Linked DNA regions of Homo sapiens: region 1 is linked to region 2. Evidence: promoter capture Hi-C in 16 types of primary human blood cells and fetal thymus (Javierre and others, 2016). All regions are on one chromosome and are shown on one strand. The core of a region is centred on a gene start or on the middle of the fragment in contact, and the rest is flanking DNA. Distances in the headings are between cores, read along the strand shown. Region 1 has its middle 120 kb from the start of MIR302CHG. Region 2 holds the start of MIR302CHG (miR-302/367 cluster host gene).

Evidence for each region. Contacts are between HindIII fragments. The CHiCAGO score rates a contact against its expected background, and 5 or more counts as called.
Region 1: a fragment that was not itself captured here is called in contact with the fragment with the promoter of MIR302CHG in region 2 in 1 of 17 cell types (erythroblasts); the score reaches 5.2 in erythroblasts.

What each region holds. Positions count from the first base shown.
Region 1 is chr4:112,772,944-112,776,954 of GRCh38, reverse strand. It overlaps a transcript of ANK2 not described here. Among named protein-coding and RNA genes, the nearest start is that of MIR302CHG, 120 kb to the right of the region's middle. RefSeq lists an enhancer at 2,511-3,037. The HindIII fragment of the contact is 3,326 bases long and covers 703-4,011 here.
Region 2 is chr4:112,647,639-112,651,843 of GRCh38, reverse strand. It overlaps MIR302CHG (miR-302/367 cluster host gene), which reads left to right and starts at 1,793. Exons shown (of 3, transcript NR_146092.1): 1 at 1,793-1,852; 2 at 3,245-3,331. LARP7 (La ribonucleoprotein 7, transcriptional regulator) reads right to left here. Exons shown (of 13, transcript NM_016648.4): 8 at 4,010-4,154; 9 at 2,158-2,309; 10 at 1,262-1,383. It overlaps MIR367 (microRNA 367), which reads left to right and starts at 3,903; the gene lies at 3,903-3,970. MIR302D (microRNA 302d) reads left to right here and starts at 3,773; the gene lies at 3,773-3,840. It also overlaps MIR302A, MIR302C and MIR302B. RefSeq lists an enhancer at 2,251-2,973. The HindIII fragment of the contact is 6,288 bases long and covers 1-3,548 here.

The DNA.
Region 1 (4,011 bases), core at 1,116-3,615, 120 kb before region 2:
TGTTTCAGGGATGAGTAAAAGCTGCTCAGTTAATAGAGAGGGTTGTGTGAAATGGGTGACTCTCAACCGAAAGCCATTCAGGGATGAAACAGAGTGAGAGGGATTCCTAGAAAGACCAAATATATGGGATTCACAGCATTCTCTCTTTCCCTAGTTTTCTTATGAAACTTCCTGTGTCCCTGATAGATGCCTACTTAATATGCAAATACATGTGCATAATGTACATATTTAATGTGCAACTATTTTTATTACAATGTGATGAAAACTCTAAGACAAATCTGTAAGTATTGAAGAGTAGTGGAATATGCCACCCCAAAATATGCCAATTTGGCACAAGGGTTATTTTGAGCTAAAGACACTTAAAAAACAGCAAGTACAAGAAAGGTTCTGACCTTTCCTTTTTCTTCCTAAAAACAGGAAATAAAATTCCCATATGGAAGATGTGCTCCCTACTCCAGAAGGAAAGTAACATTTTTACCAGAGAGATGGGGAGTTAAGGCTGAGAAAAATCTGTACAAACCTTGTCAAGCTCACTCTTCCCTTCCTAGTTACTTTTCCACCATGAATTGTCCTAGCTCAAGCCTTTTTGTCTTGTCACATTTTCAGAATTTACTGCTCTTTGTCCAATTCAGTAAATAAGCATTTGACTCTGCTTCTTTTAGTATTCACTTCTATACGAGAATTCTCATGTCATGTAAAGCTTATATTAAATAAATTTGTATGTTTTTCTCTTGCTAATCTTTTGTTACAGGGGCCCCAGCTGGGAACTTAGGAGGGTAGAAGGGAAAGGATGTTTTTCTTCCCTTACAGTATCCCTCACTACTTCCTCTTCCTTCACTTCCTTCTTAACCAGAACACTCCCCCAAATCCTACCCTTAGTTCTCTTCTCTCACTACACGTTCCCTAGGCTGGCGCTTCTCAGAACGTAGTAGTTAGACCAATGGCATCAGCACCACCCGGGAACTTGTTAGAGCTGCAAATTATTGAGCCCTAACCAGACTGAATCAGAAACTCCAAGGGTGGCTGGGCTGCAACATGTTTTAACAAGCCCTCCAGGAGATTCTTACACATGCGAAAGTGTGGAAAACCACAGCCTTCATGCAGTCCCATCCGCCTCCAAGACGTCAGTCCTTATAGACCTACAACTACTCAAACCTATATACCTGGCTCTGACCAATTTTGTGAGCTTCAGACCTAATTTCTCATGTCCGCTAGGTTGGTCTCCCTATATGAATACTCCCAGTGTAACTCAAACTTAAAGTGATATACTTCCATCTTCCTACAAAAGCCGTGAGCAACCTCTACCCTACAACCTGCCCATTTTCCTACCTTCCCTTCTCAGTTAACGATACCCAACACTCACCTGGTCTATTAGCCTAGAAATCTTAAAATCTTAGAATTTTTTTTCTTGTGTGTGTGTGTGTGTGTGTGTGTGTGTGATGGAGCTTAGCTCTGTCACCCAGGCTGGAGTGCGGCGGCCCAATCTCGGCTCACTGCAACCTCCACCTCCTGGGTTCAAGCTATTCTCCTGTCTCAGCCTCCCAAGTATCTGGGATTACAGGCACGTGCCACCACACCCAGCTAATTTTTGTATTTTTAGTAGAGGCAGGGTTTCACCATGTTGGCCAGGCTGGTCTCGAACTTCCGACCTCAAGTAATCCACCTGCCTCGGCCTCCAAAAGTGCTGGGATTACAGGCATAAGCCACCGCCTTTGGTGAAATCTTAGGAATTATCCATTTTAATTGTCTTTCTCTCTTACCAGCCCCTCTGGTCACCAAGTTCTGATTCTACCTTAGGCACATCTCTTTATGCCCTACTCTCTTTTTTCTTTCACTGTCTATACTGCAGATTATCAGTAACTGGCCTCTCCACCTCCAGCTGGTCCAAACACAAAAGCATCCATCACACTCCTGCTGTACAAAACCCACGAGAAGAGGGGAAACTGGTGGAGAGACTGTGTTGAATATCAGTACAAATTTCAGTTGAGTCTTTAAAAATTATTCTCCAGCGGCCTGATTCTCTGTGAACCTGTTGCCCACAAGTATTATTTTTCAAAGCATCAGTCTTGTCCCGTTAAATCTCTTCTCAAAAACGTTCAAAATTTCCCATTGTCTATAAACAGTTCCAAATCTTTAATGGGACAATAAGTTTTTAAGCCCCTGCCTCCTGCTTAAATGATGTGGTGGTCTCACACTTTGACTCACACTATTCCTTGGACTGGACTTGGCCTCCCGTTTCCACCCCTCTTTCTTTACCATTTCACTTGTTATCCTTTAAAGACAATTCAAATGCTGCCTGCCCACCAGAACTCATGAATTGGTCCTCTTTCTGCTGCCCATGGCAATGTCTTAAACCTCTATGAGAGCTTCATTTCTTCCAGGCTTACAGGAGTTAGTTAGTCAGTTCGTTAGTTAGCTATTTATTTTTGAGACGGAGTCTCGCTCTGTCGCCCAGACTGGAGGTGCCGTGGCGCGATCTCGGCTCACTGCAAGCTCTGCCACGCGGGTTCACGCCATTCTCCTGCCTCAGCCTCCCGAGTAGCTGGGACTACAGACACCTGCCACTACACCTGCCTAATGTTTTCTATTTTTAGTAGAGACAGGGTTTCACCGTGTTAGCCAGGATGGTCTCGATCTCCTGACCTCGTGATCCACCCACCTTGGACTCCCAAAGTGCTAGGATTACAGGCGTGAGCCACCGTGCCCAGCGGTAGTTAGTTATTTATATCTTACAATACATGGATAGAAGATCCTTCCTTAAGGGCGTGACCAGGGCTGCAATTCATTTTTGTCTCTTACACCACTTACCACAGTAAAGATTTCCGGCTGGGCGCGGTGGCTCAAGCCTGTAATCCCAGCACTTTGGGAGGGCTCAAGCCTGTAATCCTAGTACTTTGGGAGGCCAAGGCAGGCAGATCACGAGATCAGGAGTTCAAGACCAGTCTGTCCAACATAGTCAAACCCCATCTCTACTAAAAATACAAAAATTAGCTGGGCATGGTGGCTGGCACCTGTAGTCCCAGCTACTTGGGAGTCTGAGGCAGGAGAATCACTTGAACCTGGGAGGCGGAGGTTGCAGTAAGCCGAGATCTTGCCACTGCACTCCAGCCTAGGCGATACAGCAAGACTCAGTATCAAAAAAATAAATTAATTAAAATAAAATAAAATAAAATAAAATTTACTTAGGTGGATAAAGATTTACTGGATGGATACTGATGGAATGGAAATACATATTGTATCTGTTACCACATAAAGGCTGGGCTAATGAAGCCTAACTGTCTTGGCACAAGTTGAATGCATGAATGTGTCTCTCTATTTCCTCAGAGCAGCAACTCTCAAATCTGACTAATCATGATAATTAATGGGGGAGATTTTCCCCAAAAAAGTGGATTCCCAAATGTTACCTAGGTAAAAACACAGAAAAGTAGTAATAATCTTTTAGGAAAGAGTCTAAGGGTAGGTGGGAAGAGAGAAGTTTTTACTTTTTACTTTGTTTTGTATCTTCAATGCTATGTGAATTTTCCAAACCCATGCGTGTTTTTGGCTTTTTTATGTCAACATGGGTTATCCAGATAAAGGAAACATGGGCCAATTTTGTGTTCTTGTTTATATTTTTCTGTGTTTTTTAAACTAATAATAAGACAGGGTCTCACTCCGTCATCCAGGCTGGAGTTCAGCAGCACGATCACGGCTCACCACAGCCCCAACTTCCCGAGCTCAGGTGATCCTCCCACCTCAGCCACCTCAGTAGCTGGGACTATAGGCATCCACCACCACACCTGGCTAATTTTTGCATTTTTTTAGAGATGGGGTTTTGCCATGTTGCCCAGGCTGGTCTTGAACCCCAGGGCTCAAGTGATCTGCCCACCTCGACCTCCCAAAGTTTTGGGATTTCGGGTATGAGCCACCGCATCCAACCACACTTTAAAAATTAATAAAACTAAATTAAAATACAGATTCTAAGCTCTCATTCTGGAGGTTCTCAGTTGGTACATATGCAATAGGAATCTG
Region 2 (4,205 bases), core at 544-3,043:
CAATTACTACAACTCAAAAGATATATACTAAATATCCATTATAATGTCAGGCTAATCTCTTGATTTAAAACCCTTAGAATTTAAAACCCATAGAATGACAAATTAGCCTGGTAATCACATGGGCAAGTCACAGACAGTTGTAACCAACACAGCTCAGTTTTTGTTTCAGCAAAATGTAAGTAACTACTAACTGGATTAATGCAGGGATTGATTTTATGATTTTGATGATCATAAATGATGAATTTGTAATTGATAAAGTTACCCTTTAAATAACAGAAGTTATTTAATGAGTTGATTAGAAATAACTCTGAGCAATTTTTGTATTAAATGTTTTGCAATCTGATTAATCAGAGCAGTATTTACATCCCTCAATTTTCAGCTGTCTCCTGAAATGCAAGCTGGTAATAGCAATTTGGATTTGGCCAAATCCTTCACCAACATTGCAAAGAGGATCAAAATTTGTTTCTTAGTGACAGCTATAGGATTGTAGGACAGTATTTCAGATAAGGAGGGCTTACAGATAAACAAACCACCACCTCAATGGTATTCAAGTTAAAACCTGTGACTGATGAGTCTACGTAAAACCAAAACAACATACTAAGTGATGATGAATGTCAGTATAAGAAAATACTTAAAATATGTGGTATGTTACAGAGCATTTCACACTTTTTAAAAAGAAAAGGATTCACTTAAATGGGTGACAGGCAGGGTAAGGGTAAATAAGATATGGTACTCTCACCTAAAAGTATATAATTTCCCTAATAGAAAGTATTGCTACCAATGTGGTATAAAAGGCTACAGAAGATAGACTGTATAAAGCGAAAAAATTATAAACCTGTATGTACAGCAATTTGTAGCGTAAATTATATAGAAGTATGGGTTTTTTGGCACATGCGTGAAAAATTTTAAGAGGTTTTCAAAAATATTTTACTTTTCTATAATTAAAATTTTAAAGATAATCAGCACATAGGTAATACAAAAAAAATCAGTGCCAATAAAAATAAGCAAAAGTTACAATTTTCCTATAGAGAAGGATGTTTAAACTGTGCTTACATATAGATTTAGTGAGGAATTTCAGCCTCTAGATTTTGCTTCAAAATTAAACCTAAGAGTTACCATGGAATTAAAACTGTACAGTAGTTTACCATAGGGAAACAAATTCTAACTTGATTTGTTTTATCTTCCATATTCAAAACATTTTCACACAGGGAAATAATAAGAGAAGAAAGGAACAAATACCCTAGGGGCTCAAAATCATTACCCGGACTTGTTTCCTGCCAGGTAGAGGCTCTGTGCTAATGATCTTCACAATCACTCCACTCACGAACTGTGGTCCTGTTGCATTAACTTTCTCCTGGGTGCGACACTCTTCCCTGTTGGCTGCTGATTAGAAAAGGAAAAAGACCAGGACTAAATCTCTTACACTTAACAACAATTTAATACTTAGGAGGACTACCTTAGAATAATTCCTGAGGCAGATTTAAATAATTTAAAACGTATTTAATTTTAAAGTAAACAATTAAAGGTTATATGTCATACTGCTTATTTCAAAATACCATGAATAAAACTCAGAAAGTTTTATTATTCTACATGCAAATTGTTACTGCTAGAAGAGCATTCGTAAAGCCTTTAAATTTGCCCCTTCTCCCTGAACAAAGGAACAGTAAATTTTTACTCAATAAAGTTAAAAAAAAGTTAAAGGATACTGTGTTTTAAATACATTATTATTCAAACGTGAACATTTATTTTTACAAGAAATGAGAATTTAAAATGTATCCTAATTTTGAATTCATAGGAATTCTGCTTTAACTTGTTCCTGCTTGTGGTGCATACTACAGAATGAAATTAACAGGTGAGAAACTACAATCTTCATTCCTACAAACTTGCTCAGTCTGCAAACTCTGCACTCATGTGCTTGATGAAAACTGTAGAGAAAACTCAGGTTATTTAAAAAATTGTTTTAAATGAGCCTTTTAAATATTCTTATATCAAGAGTAAGTAACACATCTGGATAACTTAACAAATCAAGAATTGTTCTAATAATGAAATAGAATAATCAAGTTTTTTAAAATTAAAATTTATCTTATAACAACTCAGAGATAGCATTTACATATATAAGTACATTATAATGTTGTCAAAACTATCAGTGATCTTTACTTTTTTCATTTTTCATTCCAGTGTTTTGAGGTACTCCACTGTCTGTTTCCATTTCTGACTCTGATTTTATTTGGGATATTGTTTTTTTTAAAGAAGCCATGCTAGCTTTTTGTAGCGCTAAATACTCTTTTTTCAAATCCATCCATTCGCTCCTACAAGGAAAGAAATGGTGATAACAGATGACTAAATATAAAAAGTAAATAGGGAAATATCTAAATATATACATTCACAATGACTTGGAGCAACTCCTCCACCAACTTTCCTGTTTCTTTAAACACATATTCAAAATATTTCCTAGGTTCTAAAGACATTTAGCAAAATAAGCTAAGGGAGTTCCTCTTCCCCCAATATTCAGATTAAATGTTTTAAGATTGCCAATTAAATTTTTGAGTGTCTGAAGTATTTTAATTTATAAAAGTAAAATTTTAGCATTAATTCCTTAACTAGTAACATTTACTAAATCAGTCATCTCTGTGGGAAAAGGGCGAGATTAAAGATTTGTTAAACTGCTTCCAATTTGAGAGATAACATTCCTTAGTATTTACTTGAATCAAAAAGAATTTCTAAGTAGAACAAAACACCCCGTGGAAGCAATCTATTTATTTACATACATTTAACATGTAGATGCTTCTTCAAACAGAGTTCCTCCAGATAGAAACACAATGCCTTTCTCGGCTCAGTGGGAGCACTCATTGTTACCCTAATCTATGCCATCAAACAAGCAGATAGGAGATTTTCTTTTTCTTTTTCTTTTTTTTTTTTAAGAGGAAGATATCTTGTGGTAATGGTTTTAGCTGTTAACATTGACATCTGTATACTTCAAAAAAAAAAAAAAGGATCCAGACCCACCCAGGATCATACATTCCCTGAGAGCTGATACATTAAAATAACAAAAGGCCCTTGTAATGATTCTCTGAGATAAAAAGGCAAAAGGAATTCAAGAGTTAAGAATAGTATAAATAGAAGTGGCTGAAGTCCCTGCCTTTTACCCTTCTGGAGGAGAACACGAATCTTTGGGAACTAGTTCAGGAAGGTAAAAAAATTTTTTTCTTCTAAAGTTATGCCATTTTGTTTTCTTTCTCCTCAGCTCTAAATACTCTGAAGTCCAAAGAAGTTGTATGTTGGGTGGGCTCCCTTCAACTTTAACATGGAAGTGCTTTCTGTGACTTTAAAAGTAAGTGCTTCCATGTTTTAGTAGGAGTGAATCCAATTTACTTCTCCAAAATAGAACACGCTAACCTCATTTGAAGGGATCCCCTTTGCTTTAACATGGGGGTACCTGCTGTGTGAAACAAAAGTAAGTGCTTCCATGTTTCAGTGGAGGTGTCTCCAAGCCAGCACACCTTTTGTTACAAAATTTTTTTGTTATTGTGTTTTAAGGTTACTAAGCTTGTTACAGGTTAAAGGATTCTAACTTTTTCCAAGACTGGGCTCCCCACCACTTAAACGTGGATGTACTTGCTTTGAAACTAAAGAAGTAAGTGCTTCCATGTTTTGGTGATGGTAAGTCTTCCTTTTACATTTTTATTATTTTTTTAGAAAATAACTTTATTGTATTGACCGCAGCTCATATATTTAAGCTTTATTTTGTATTTTTACATCTGTTAAGGGGCCCCCTCTACTTTAACATGGAGGCACTTGCTGTGACATGACAAAAATAAGTGCTTCCATGTTTGAGTGTGGTGGTTCCTACCTAATCAGCAATTGCGTTAACGCCCACACTGTGTGCAGTTCTTGGCTACAGGCCATTACTGTTGCTAATATGCAACTCTGTTGAATATAAATTGGAATTGCACTTTAGCAATGGTGATGGATTGTTAAGCCAATGACAGAATTTAAACCACAGACTTACTTTGATAGCACTCTTAATGGTATAACTTCTTCTCCCATTTTATGTCTCTCTTTATGTTTTTTCTTATGTTTCCTTTTTGTTTTCAAGAGAGAGCTATCTTTTAGATCTCCAGTATCCTTTTCCTCTTCAGTAGAGATTTCTATATCTTGAAATAAATAAAAAAGCTCTCCGTTAAGACATGGGGCTGTGAAATGGG